3 separate regions of the Homo sapiens genome follow, and all the other regions are linked to region 2. The links are contacts of gene promoters, found by promoter capture Hi-C in human tissues and cell types (Jung and others, 2019). All regions are on one chromosome and are shown on one strand. The core of a region is centred on a gene start or on the middle of the fragment in contact, and the rest is flanking DNA. Distances in the headings are between cores, read along the strand shown.

The links. The method cuts DNA at HindIII sites, captures the fragments that hold promoters and counts their contacts. A contact is called where the count stands out against the background at its distance.
Region 1: a contact is called between a fragment that was not itself captured here and the fragment with the promoter of PI3 in region 2, in 4 of the 25 tissues and cell types used here (dorsolateral prefrontal cortex, mesenchymal stem cells, mesendoderm cells and 1 more).
Region 3: a contact is called between a fragment that was not itself captured here and the fragment with the promoter of PI3 in region 2, in 2 of the 25 tissues and cell types used here (mesenchymal stem cells and small bowel).

The regions. Positions count from the first base shown.
Region 1 is chr20:45,091,995-45,095,396 of GRCh38, forward strand. KCNS1 (potassium voltage-gated channel modifier subfamily S member 1) reads right to left here. Exons shown (of 4, transcript NM_001322799.2): 4 at 1-3,346. The coding sequence ends at 2,876. Among named protein-coding and RNA genes, the nearest start is that of KCNS1, 7.4 kb to the right of the region's middle. The HindIII fragment of the contact is 5,760 bases long and covers 1-3,402 here.
Region 2 is chr20:45,172,799-45,176,627 of GRCh38, forward strand. PI3 (peptidase inhibitor 3) reads left to right here and starts at 2,104. Exons shown (of 3, transcript NM_002638.4): 1 at 2,104-2,203; 2 at 3,063-3,338; 3 at 3,572-3,746. The coding sequence starts at 2,125. The coding sequence ends at 3,337. RefSeq lists an enhancer at 1,694-2,893. The HindIII fragment of the contact is 10,589 bases long and covers 1-3,829 here.
Region 3 is chr20:45,074,387-45,077,746 of GRCh38, forward strand. STK4 (serine/threonine kinase 4) reads left to right here. Exons shown (of 11, transcript NM_006282.5): 11 at 632-3,360. The coding sequence ends at 790. Among named protein-coding and RNA genes, the nearest start is that of KCNS1, 25 kb to the right of the region's middle. The HindIII fragment of the contact is 4,057 bases long and covers 1-3,352 here.

The DNA.
Region 1 (3,402 bases), core at 476-2,975, 81 kb before region 2:
GGAAACTAATATATCTTCCAATAAATTCATTTTTTGCTTGATGTCAGTTTGTTGCTTATACCCTCAAACTCTAATTGTTAACAGTCATTCATCACTTTAATTATTTTATAAATTACCCTTTTTGACCAAGTTTGTTCCAACTGAATTCCTGTCACTTGCAACCTGTTCTGGCTGGCACAACCACAAAGTTTGTGCCAAATCCAGGACTGGAGCCTGAGAATGTGGATTCCAAGTCATTCCACATATTGCCCACCCTCTCCAATCACTCAGACAGCATGTCAGGGAGCCATCTCCATACAAGCAGAAACACGTCCTGGGGCCCAGCTCTTTATTTGCATAATGGTTTTCACTGATACATGGGAAGGGGAGCGAGTTGTTGCTTTTCTGCCAGGACCACAAACAGCCTCATGGTAGGCTCAGGCCAGATGATTCCCTCTTGAGCTTTCTCCACATCAGTATTAGGGACCTGTTTGTAGGGTCAGAAAATATGGAAGCCGTCGGGTTTCTTGGTGTGTTCTGCAAGACCATAAGGGTGCTACACGCAGCCCTTCTGATCTGCCCCTAACCTGGGTTCAGCTGGGCCTAGATGTAAGGAGCAGAGTGTGCAGAAGGGCTGGTATGTGTGTGGTGAATTCAAGGGAGGCCCTTTGCTGCTTAGCTCCATCCTCTGTTCCAATCTGGAGACCCAGAATCCATGCGTATGTAGGGGGCCCACTATGTACTAGGCCCTGTGTATGACACACACCTTCACACATGCCATTCTCTCTGCTTGGAGTACTCCCCCCTGGAACCTCATTTGCTTAATTAGCAATTTATCATTTGGATGGCAGGTTAGATTGTCACTTGCTCAGGAAAGCCTTCTCACTTTCTCGGGCCATGGTCCCTGATACATTATACACACCTGTACTTAGTAGAGCTCGCTATATTTATGTGATTATTGCATTAGAGTCTATCTTCCCTACTAGTCGGTAAGCTTCATGAGTATAGGGATATATTTTTCCACCACTGTATCTCTTGAGACTAGTAAGCAGCCCATAAGTCAGAAGCCAGTATATCAGAGTGGCTGGGCATAACACAACGGCATGTGTGTCTGTTTGTGGGTGGCAGCGGGGGAGACACTATGGGGAACCTGAGAGTGCATGCCTCACGCAAAGGCATTCAGATTCTTAAAATATAATAAAAACACTGTTGGACTAAGCCGAAACATGACTGCAGGCCACACATGAAGCCCCAGTTTAAGACTCTTCCAACGGGTATTTGTTGAGTGAGTGAGTGAAGAACCTACAAGGAATATATTGTAAAAACTTCAAGAACCAAGCAGGGACAGGGCAGGCGGAGCTGAACGGACCTCCTTTTCAGTCTTGTTCACACCTTTTTGAGGGCCAGGTCTCTCTCTGGCTATCTTTTTTTCCCCCTCTGAGCTTGGCACCCAGTGGGCTGTAGGAATTGGTTGATCTATTCAACATTTACCAAATACCTACTCTGCACCAAGCCCAGAGTTCAAGCAGACAATGTCTTCCATCTTGAGGCTCAGGGTGATGGGACAGAGATAGCCACAGTCAGACAACAACAGCACAGTGCTGGGTGCTGTAGCCACAGTATGTGGAAAGGGCTACTGGATCCCCTCCTCTGACTTTCTCAGCAAGTGAAGAGAAGATTCAGCAGGTGGGTATGAGAGATATGCCCCCAGCAAGGGTGAGGGGGCTGGAGCTGGCCAGAAGGGAGAGGACTCTCACACATGGGCCTGGATGGGTACTCTAGGTAGGGCTGGACAATGTAGGGCTGGACGTCTGTGTGATGGGCAGAAAGGAACTGCCAAGGTCAGACTGTTGGGGGAGGGTCTTAGAAGCCAGTATTCATATATGTCAGCCCTCTGAACATTTCAGAGCTGAGCTGGCTTTAAGTTAGAGACCCCTCTGCTCTCCTTGGCTTTCATTGCCCTCTGGGTCACAGATTCTGACCATTTGACAGAGGGGCTGGAATCTGGACTTGGGGGCAGGGATTGGACCACTTTACACAGCAGGTCTTGGCGCAGCTAGGTTGTCTAGATCTCAGGCCAGGGGCCCTTCAGATTTTCTTTCTCTCACATCAGCCCTGGGAGGAAGGTCGGAAGATTATTGCTTAGCAAATCTTGCATACCAGCTAAAGAGGCAAGTACAATGCTATGGTACTTCCTCCCAGGACTCATCCTCCTTCCCTCCAGGACTCATCTTTGATTGCTGACTCCTGTTGGATGCTCCTAGAAAGGAACCACAGCTGAGATCCAGAGCTCCTATATCCAAATCTCCTGTCTGGACCCTTCCCTGGCTCTGAAAGGGATTTCTTATCTTGTGGATCAACTCTGGGGATCCATGAATCACCAAAAAACACACGCAAACTTCATGAGGGCAGAAGAAAGATGGAGTTGATGGAGCATTGCTCCAGGCACACCAACAAGCCCAGATTCCAAACCTGACTCTGCCACTTCTAATTGTGACATCTGGGAGAGGCATCGCTCATCTCTTAGCCTTGGTTTCCTCATCTGTGAAGTGGGGATAATTCTCTTTCTCCAACACAAGGCCAAACATGACCTGGTTCATGTACAGGAGGTGCTCAGGAATCATTAGTATCCTTTCAACTTCCTCCCTCTGGCTCATGCCTGCTTCATGAATGGCTTGGAGGCAGGTTTATAAAGCTTTCTGAGTTGCTTGCAGAATCTCACAGAATCTAGGGTAGCACTGTCCTGTCCTGGGCCTTTGGAGGAAGGAATGCAGCTTTTGAATCTCATTTCTCAGGACAGCATGAGTGATCCTGGGAGGCTCACTACCATGAAGAACTTTAGCAGGGGAGGAATCTCTACTGTAGGGGCATGGCAGGGGGTCACGGATCCCTGGTTTTAATACATCTGAGGGTGTGGAGGCTCACTGGGGGCCTGGCTCTCTAGATCTGCAGACTGTCCCTCCTGAGAGGTTTCTCGGGATGTCTCCAGAGATGCCTCCGACACCCCATCAATGCTGCTCAGCAAGTCCTCAAACTCTTGGTGGTTGCTGTTGCGCACGGCTGCCTCCAGAGCCTTCTGGCGCCGGTAGAAGTGGGAGAACTTGTTGAAGATGATGGTGATGGGGAGTGCTACCACCAGGATGCCCCCTAGGATGCAGCCTGAGGCTGCCAGCTTGCCAGCCACCGTCACTGGCACCACATCCCCATAGCCCACGGTGGTCATGCTCACTGTGCCCCACCACCAGCAGGCTGGGATGGTGTTAAAGCCCACGTCCTCCTCCTTTTCAGCTGTGTAGGCCACACCAGAGAACACTGACACACCCACAGCCAGGTACAGCAGCAAGATGCCCACCTCACGGTAGCTGTGCTGAAAGAGAATGTAGAAAGCCAAGTCAGAGTGGATGGGCTTACAGTCCTGGTATT
Region 2 (3,829 bases), core at 854-3,353:
AGTATTTATGACAGCTGGATGTATCTATACTCTGTGATCTGTACTCTGTGATCCAGCAATTCCATTCCTAACCATATATCCAAAATAAATGCATACCTATGTTCTGCAAGAGATATGTACAAGAATATTCATAGCAACACTATAATAGCTAAAACCTAGAAATATCCAATGTATATTGACAGTAGAATGAATATATAACATTTTTGGTATTTTTCATAGAATACTGTACAGCAGTGAAAATGATGAACTACAGGTGTAGACTTCAAAATGGATGACTCTCAAAAATATAATGTTGAGCAACATAAGCAGGACATATGAACACTATACCTTAGATTTCATTTACATACAAATTGAAAAAGTATACTAAACTGAATATATATTTCAGAATACAGACAGAAGTGGCATAACTATAAAGGAAAGCAAGGGCTAATTACCATAAAATCTTAGGAAGCAGTTATCTCTGGGGAGGAAGGAGAATGAAGCAACTGAGGAGAGGCATGGAGCATAGATATAGCAAATATTCTCCTCCTTTACCTGGCAGCTCATTTTAATGCTATTCTTTAAAGAATATAGGTATTTTCTGTGAGCTTTTTATTTGTTTGTATGGCTTATTGTACAATGAGCTTTTGTGTAAGGTAGCCAAAGGCTTCCACAGTCTGACATTCGTTTATGTCTCCCTCAGTTTCAGGCTTGGTGGGCATGTGGTCAGAGTCTAAATCGACAAGGGGTGGGGATTTCACCAGCTGAATTAGTGTCCAATAATTAGTTTGTTACCTTCCCTGCCTTAACTCCACCTCAACTCAGTGACTTTCTTAACTCAGATTCTGTCCCTGACAATACCCAACTTCAGGATATTCATTTCTATTACTCAGAACTTTTGGTAACAATGACAGAATAGTAAGTCAGACTAGCTGAAGCAGAGGGCTAATTTATTGCCTCATAACCCAACCATGAGAAGGGTGTGTGAAGAACTGCTCTCAAGGTAAAGGAGGGAAACCTGGCTGTGTCATCTGAATCTTCTCTCACCATCACTTCTCTCCTTGTCTCAGTGTATTAGAGTCGTTTTTCTCAGACAATTGATCTCCACCCCCAGACTTAGATAACCACTTCTGGAATTCCCTGGTTCATATATATCACCTTTTCCAGAAGAAGGAACCCCCGTTTTCCCCTTTCATTACTCATTCAAATAAAATATGTTAATAGACCAGACCAAGTCTCACACACAACACACACACACACACTCACACACACACACACACACACACACCCCTACCTGTGGTCAGGGGTCAGGCTTTCATGATTAGCAGTCCCCATTAGACTCACAAGTTGATGGTTCAAAGAGACAACAATTCTTCACAAGAAACAGGGTGCTGTTCAAAGAAGTGGGGAGGCATGCTGGACACACACACTGTAGATGTCCAATGTATACATGATACATGTTTTCTACTACTTTCTGATTATTTTCTCCCTACCACTGTGATTTCAAGGGCATCATCCCTCTTCAGACCTAGAATTCCACCTTCCAATTACTTTCTTGATGCATCTGAAAGGCCGTCTCTGAAACAGCAAAGTGCAATAATTAGTCATTATGTATTCAAGGCAAATTTGTCTTACAGAGTTTTTTGCAGGACCAGGGAAGAAGGAAGGAAATGCCCAGTTTGATGCTGGGAGTGGTAAAATGATAAAGTAGATCTGGGTGGGGTTTGTAGCACCAGAGCATAATGGAGAAACACCTTGGTTTTGTAATCAAGACTGGATCTACCAGTGACTTGCTGAATAACCTTCGGTGATTCCTTTCTCTTCTTGGGTCTCACTGTATTTCAAAACATGAAGAATTTCATTGTAATGTTACCTAATAAGTGAGCCAGCACTTCTACTCTGTGAGAAAGTAGGAAAACTCTTGGGACAATCAGAGATGATGTGATGTAATGTCCATTAGTTCTTCCTGTGAATAATCCTGAGGGAAAGCCCCCAGGTCCCTCCCAGAATGGGGTGGATATTTCCCAATACAGCTAAGGAATTATCCCTTGTAAATACCACAGACCCGCCCCTGGAGCCAGGCCAAGCTGGACTGCATAAAGATTGGTATGGCCTTAGCTCTTAGCCAAACACCTTCCTGACACCATGAGGGCCAGCAGCTTCTTGATCGTGGTGGTGTTCCTCATCGCTGGGACGCTGGTTCTAGAGGCAGCTGTCACGGGAGGTGAGTGAACAGGTGACCTGCTGGGCTGGGTTGGACTAAGGGGAGACCCTCTGGGACACCCTGGGCCAGGACAGGGAGCACTTCTGAAGCAGTAGGCAGCACTGGAGCCCAGATTTCAGCTTTCTGTTCTTTGCCATCATATTCAGAAAAAATAGGACTTTGGCTGGTGGACTCCACGTGCTTTCCACCTCAGTGACTGAGATATCAGGACTGTTTGTGGAAGTAATGTTGGTATGTGGCCTTGGCCTCAGATGTCAATACCTGTGCAGAATGTGCAATAAAATAATGAACTCCAGGATTTTAAACCTTGGGTGTGGACACAGTCCCCCGTTTCTCTGCCCCATAAAAGCACTGGAGTAATCAGTACTCTAAAAGGAGGTTAAGAAACAACAAGCCTTCAGGAATCATGTTGTTTGAGGACCCCCATTTTATAAGGAGGGAACCAAAAATGTAGAAATGAGTGAGCAATTGCCAAGGTAATTCCCAGAGCCAGGATGGGGCTCAAGTCTCCTAGTATGTGGCTCAGGGTTCTTTCCTACTCCAATGCACTTCCTAACAAATGACAATGTGTCCTCTTCACTGCTGGGTGTCACCCCAGTCTGACCACTGCTCCTGAGAGACTTGGAGTGGAGGAAGGGGGAAGAAACAAATACTCAAGGGAACTCTGGTCCAGTAGACCACCCCAAAAAAGGAAGAGCCTTCCAAGAGTGTAGCTCCCAGAGGTGTACCTTCCCTACTCAGGCCATGGTTTGAGGATGCTGCAGTAAGCAGTGGATGGACCCAGACCCAGAGGAAAGACATGGCAGCTGAAGCAGAGGCTTACTGGGTATAAATGTGGGCTCGTTTCTTCTTTTAACAGTTCCTGTTAAAGGTCAAGACACTGTCAAAGGCCGTGTTCCATTCAATGGACAAGATCCCGTTAAAGGACAAGTTTCAGTTAAAGGTCAAGATAAAGTCAAAGCGCAAGAGCCAGTCAAAGGTCCAGTCTCCACTAAGCCTGGCTCCTGCCCCATTATCTTGATCCGGTGCGCCATGTTGAATCCCCCTAACCGCTGCTTGAAAGATACTGACTGCCCAGGAATCAAGAAGTGCTGTGAAGGCTCTTGCGGGATGGCCTGTTTCGTTCCCCAGTGAGGTGAGCACTAGCTGGAGAACGAGGAGACCCCTGAAGACACAAAAGAAGGCTGAGCGGTGGGGAAGCATCCCAGGTTGGTGGGAGGGAGGTTGTGGGAGGTGACAGAAAGACTGGGAGACTGAGGGGTCTGAGAGGCTATAACCAGAGTGCCTAGAAGGATGATCTGTCTTCCTCACTGCCTCTGAGTGCTTTGATGTGCTGACTCTCACCTCTGATACTCTTCTCTTCCACAGAGGGAGCCGGTCCTTGCTGCACCTGTGCCGTCCCCAGAGCTACAGGCCCCATCTGGTCCTAAGTCCCTGCTGCCCTTCCCCTTCCCACACTGTCCATTCTTCCTCCCATTCAGGATGCCCACGGCTGGAGCTGCCTCTCTCATCCACTTTCCAATAAAGAGTTCCTTCTGCTCCACTTGTTTCTGGTTCCTATGACTTCTGGGCTCCTGGATGCTTTGGGGAAATGGATGTAGAATTGGGACTTCTTCTCTCCAGTGA
Region 3 (3,360 bases), core at 74-2,573, 99 kb before region 2:
ACCCACCCTTACCCCAACCCCTGCCAAGGGTTGCGTCTGTATTCCCAAGGGGCTTAGACTGTTACCTGGTATATAGTAGCCTCAAGTAAATGCTGGTGATGATAATAGGGCAGTGCCAAGACATTGGGGGTGTGGGAAGGCAGGGTTAGGGGATGGCATCTGCGCCTCATCAGCATCGATCCTCCATGGTGTCGTATCCTGAAAGTGGGAAAGGCGCTGTCCAGATAGACGCTTATCTCGTAGACAGAACAAGAACGGGGAGGCAACCATTATTTCACATACAGCAAGTTACTGTTATTTTAATGCCCTAACAATGAATCTATATTTAATTAACTTAAAAGATAGGGGAGGTGAGAGTATTATTCACTAAGTTCTTGGTCAAGGCACATTAAATCAAAGCGGTTAGCACTTAGATCTCTTCCAGGGATAAATTATCTCAGACAAGCTTCAAGGTATGCCATGCTTTGGAATGAATTGTCACTTTCCAACCACCACCACTCAACCTGTGATCTGACCACAGTGTCTTCCTCCTGTCTCCCTTCCCTCTGGGTGCCTGGGAAGGCTGGGCTTCTGCACTGTTCTGCCACTGACTTAAGCTTTGTCGTGACTATACCTTCCACTTCTCTTCTAGCTTAAGAGTTGGACAGTGGAGGACCTTCAGAAGAGGCTCTTGGCCCTGGACCCCATGATGGAGCAGGAGATTGAAGAGATCCGGCAGAAGTACCAGTCCAAGCGGCAGCCCATCCTGGATGCCATAGAGGCTAAGAAGAGACGGCAACAAAACTTCTGAGCAAGGCCAGGCTGTGAGGGCCCCAGCTCCACCCAGGCTTTGGGTGAATTCTGGATGGCTTGCCTCATGTTTGTTAGCCAGCACTTCTGCTCTGTCGTCTCTCCACAGCACCTTTGTGAACTCAGGAATGTGCGCCAGTGGGAAGGGCTCTCTTGACAGTCAGCGTGCCATCTTGATGTGTGTATGTACATTGGTCAGGTATATTATCTCAAAGGATTTATATTGGCGCTTTTAACTCAGAGTTTTAAACCCCAGGAACAGAGACTCCTAGTTGAGTGATAGCTGGGAAAGTTTTACATTGTCTGTTTTTCTTCTCCCAATAGCTTTCAATTGTTCTTTCTGGAAGACTTTTAAAAAAATATAAATATGCATATATATATATAAATTATAAATAGATTCCCCACGCAGTGTGGTGGCATCTCTGTACAGGTACAGTTTTAAACGGTTTGCCTCTTTTCTGTAAGATTATGGTACTGTGGAACATGAGGGCAGAGGACACCGGGAGGCTGTTAGGGGGTCACTGAATCCCAGGAGCCAACCTCCCCCTTTGCAGGGCTGCATTTAAAAATTAGGTTTGGGACAGTTCTTGTACCGTGGTTTCAGCCTTGTGTGGTCATCACTGGCTTCTGGAGCTATTGGTGATGTCCAAGGGAAAGCTTTGAGAGTTTATGTTTACTCTTTGAGTCCCAGGAGAAGCCTGGCACCCTCTTTGCAAATTGGCCTTTGCTCTTTCAATGCCTTTCATCCATCTCCACTCTCTCAACTGCCTAAAGTCACAGCACAGATACTGCCCAGTGCCTTAAGAGGAGACATGATCTCTACCAGGGACTCTCAGCAAACACGGGACTGTGTTCAGTCCACAAAGGAAAAGCGTTTTTGAAGCTCTCATTGTTCATGTAAAAATCATACACGTGGCATGTTGCTCCACATTCCTTACACACAGGGGTAGAGGGGATTGCTTTTGTGACCCACGTTCAAATATGTGACTGTTTTCTTTTCTCTTTTACTGCTAAGCAGCCTGGAAAGGATAAATGAATATTAGACTAAGATTTGTTTTCCAGGAGGCTCAATCTGAACACACAGAATGTCAGAGCTGGAAGGGACTATAGAGATCATCTGATCTGATCCTCTTGTACGGATGATCGCAAAACTGAGGTGTAGAGAGGGGAATGGCCAAAATCACAAAGCAAGTTAGCGTTAAGAGCTGAGACTAGAATTCAGGGTCCTCACTCCCAGGCCACCGAACCATGCAGCCCCTTCTTTGGGGGAAGAGACCTGTGTCAGTCTTGGTTAATTGTTCCAGGGAACCTTGCTAACAGAAACTTGCTCTTGCCTTGGCTCTTCAGTAGATGACCTGGCTGTAAAGAGATTCCCTGGACGAGCCAGATCATTCAGTTTCAGCGAGTCCTTGAGCTCCACAACATCTACCAGATATAGCAGACAAGCACCCATGGAGGCAGGTTTCGGGCCTGAAGCAGATCAGAGGGCTTTGCAAAAGACAGCATAGAGCCATCTTCCTGCAACTTTACCTCTTTCCCTCAGATGGGGAGCCATGACTGGGTTGCACCTCAGGATACTGTAATTTGACTCCATAATTGCTTTTGCTCCTGAAACCTGGGAATCAATGGAAAGGCAGGGAATGTGCCTCTTCTGTGGCCAGATTCTGTTATTTGCAATTAAAGCAAGTTTTTAAAAAATGCAAGAGGCAGTTGTTAGTCTTCAGGGCTTGGCAACTGAAATAGCTATGTGGCGGATACGGAAAACAGAGGACAATTTGAGGATCTTGCTGGAATAATAAATGACAGCTACCATTTGTTGAGCACCTATTATATATCAGGCACTGAGCTGGGTAGGCTCTAAACTTCACAATAACCCTGTGACTTAACTACTTTATCTCCATTTTGTAGTTGAAGAAATAAGTTCAGAGAGAAAGATTCCTTCCCAAGGTCATGCAGCTAGTAAATGATAGAATCAGGATTCATAGCATCACTATAGGGGGTCAATATTTACACAAAAAAGGAAAGTCACAAGCCTGTTTAAAATGAAGTGACCACCTTTTCTTGCATAGACTAAATAACTCGAACTGGCATTTTTAGGTTGGAAAGACAGCTGAATTAGTAGTTAAGTCTGATAGCCAAGTAAGTTTTAAAAACCAAAGCATCCAGGATGCACACCCCTGCACCATTTGCTGTGCGAATTAATAGTTCTGTCTCTCTCTCTCTTTCTTTTTTCTTTTTATTCTTTGAGATGGATTTTCGCTCTTGTCGCCCAGGCTGGAGTACAATGGCACGATCTTGGCTCACTGCAACCTCCGCCTCCCGGGTTCAAGCGATTCTTCTGCTGGGATTACAGCATATGCCACCATGCCCAGATTATTTTTTTGTATTTGTAGTAGAGACGGGGTTTCACCATGTCAGTCAGGCTGGTCTTGAACTCCTGACCTCAGGTGATCCACCCGCCTCAGCCTCCCACACTGCTGGGATTACAGGCATGAGCCACCGCTCCTGGCCTCTCTTTCTTTTTTAAACAAAGAACTTTGCACTTGGCCAGAGAGGAGGAGAAAGCCCATT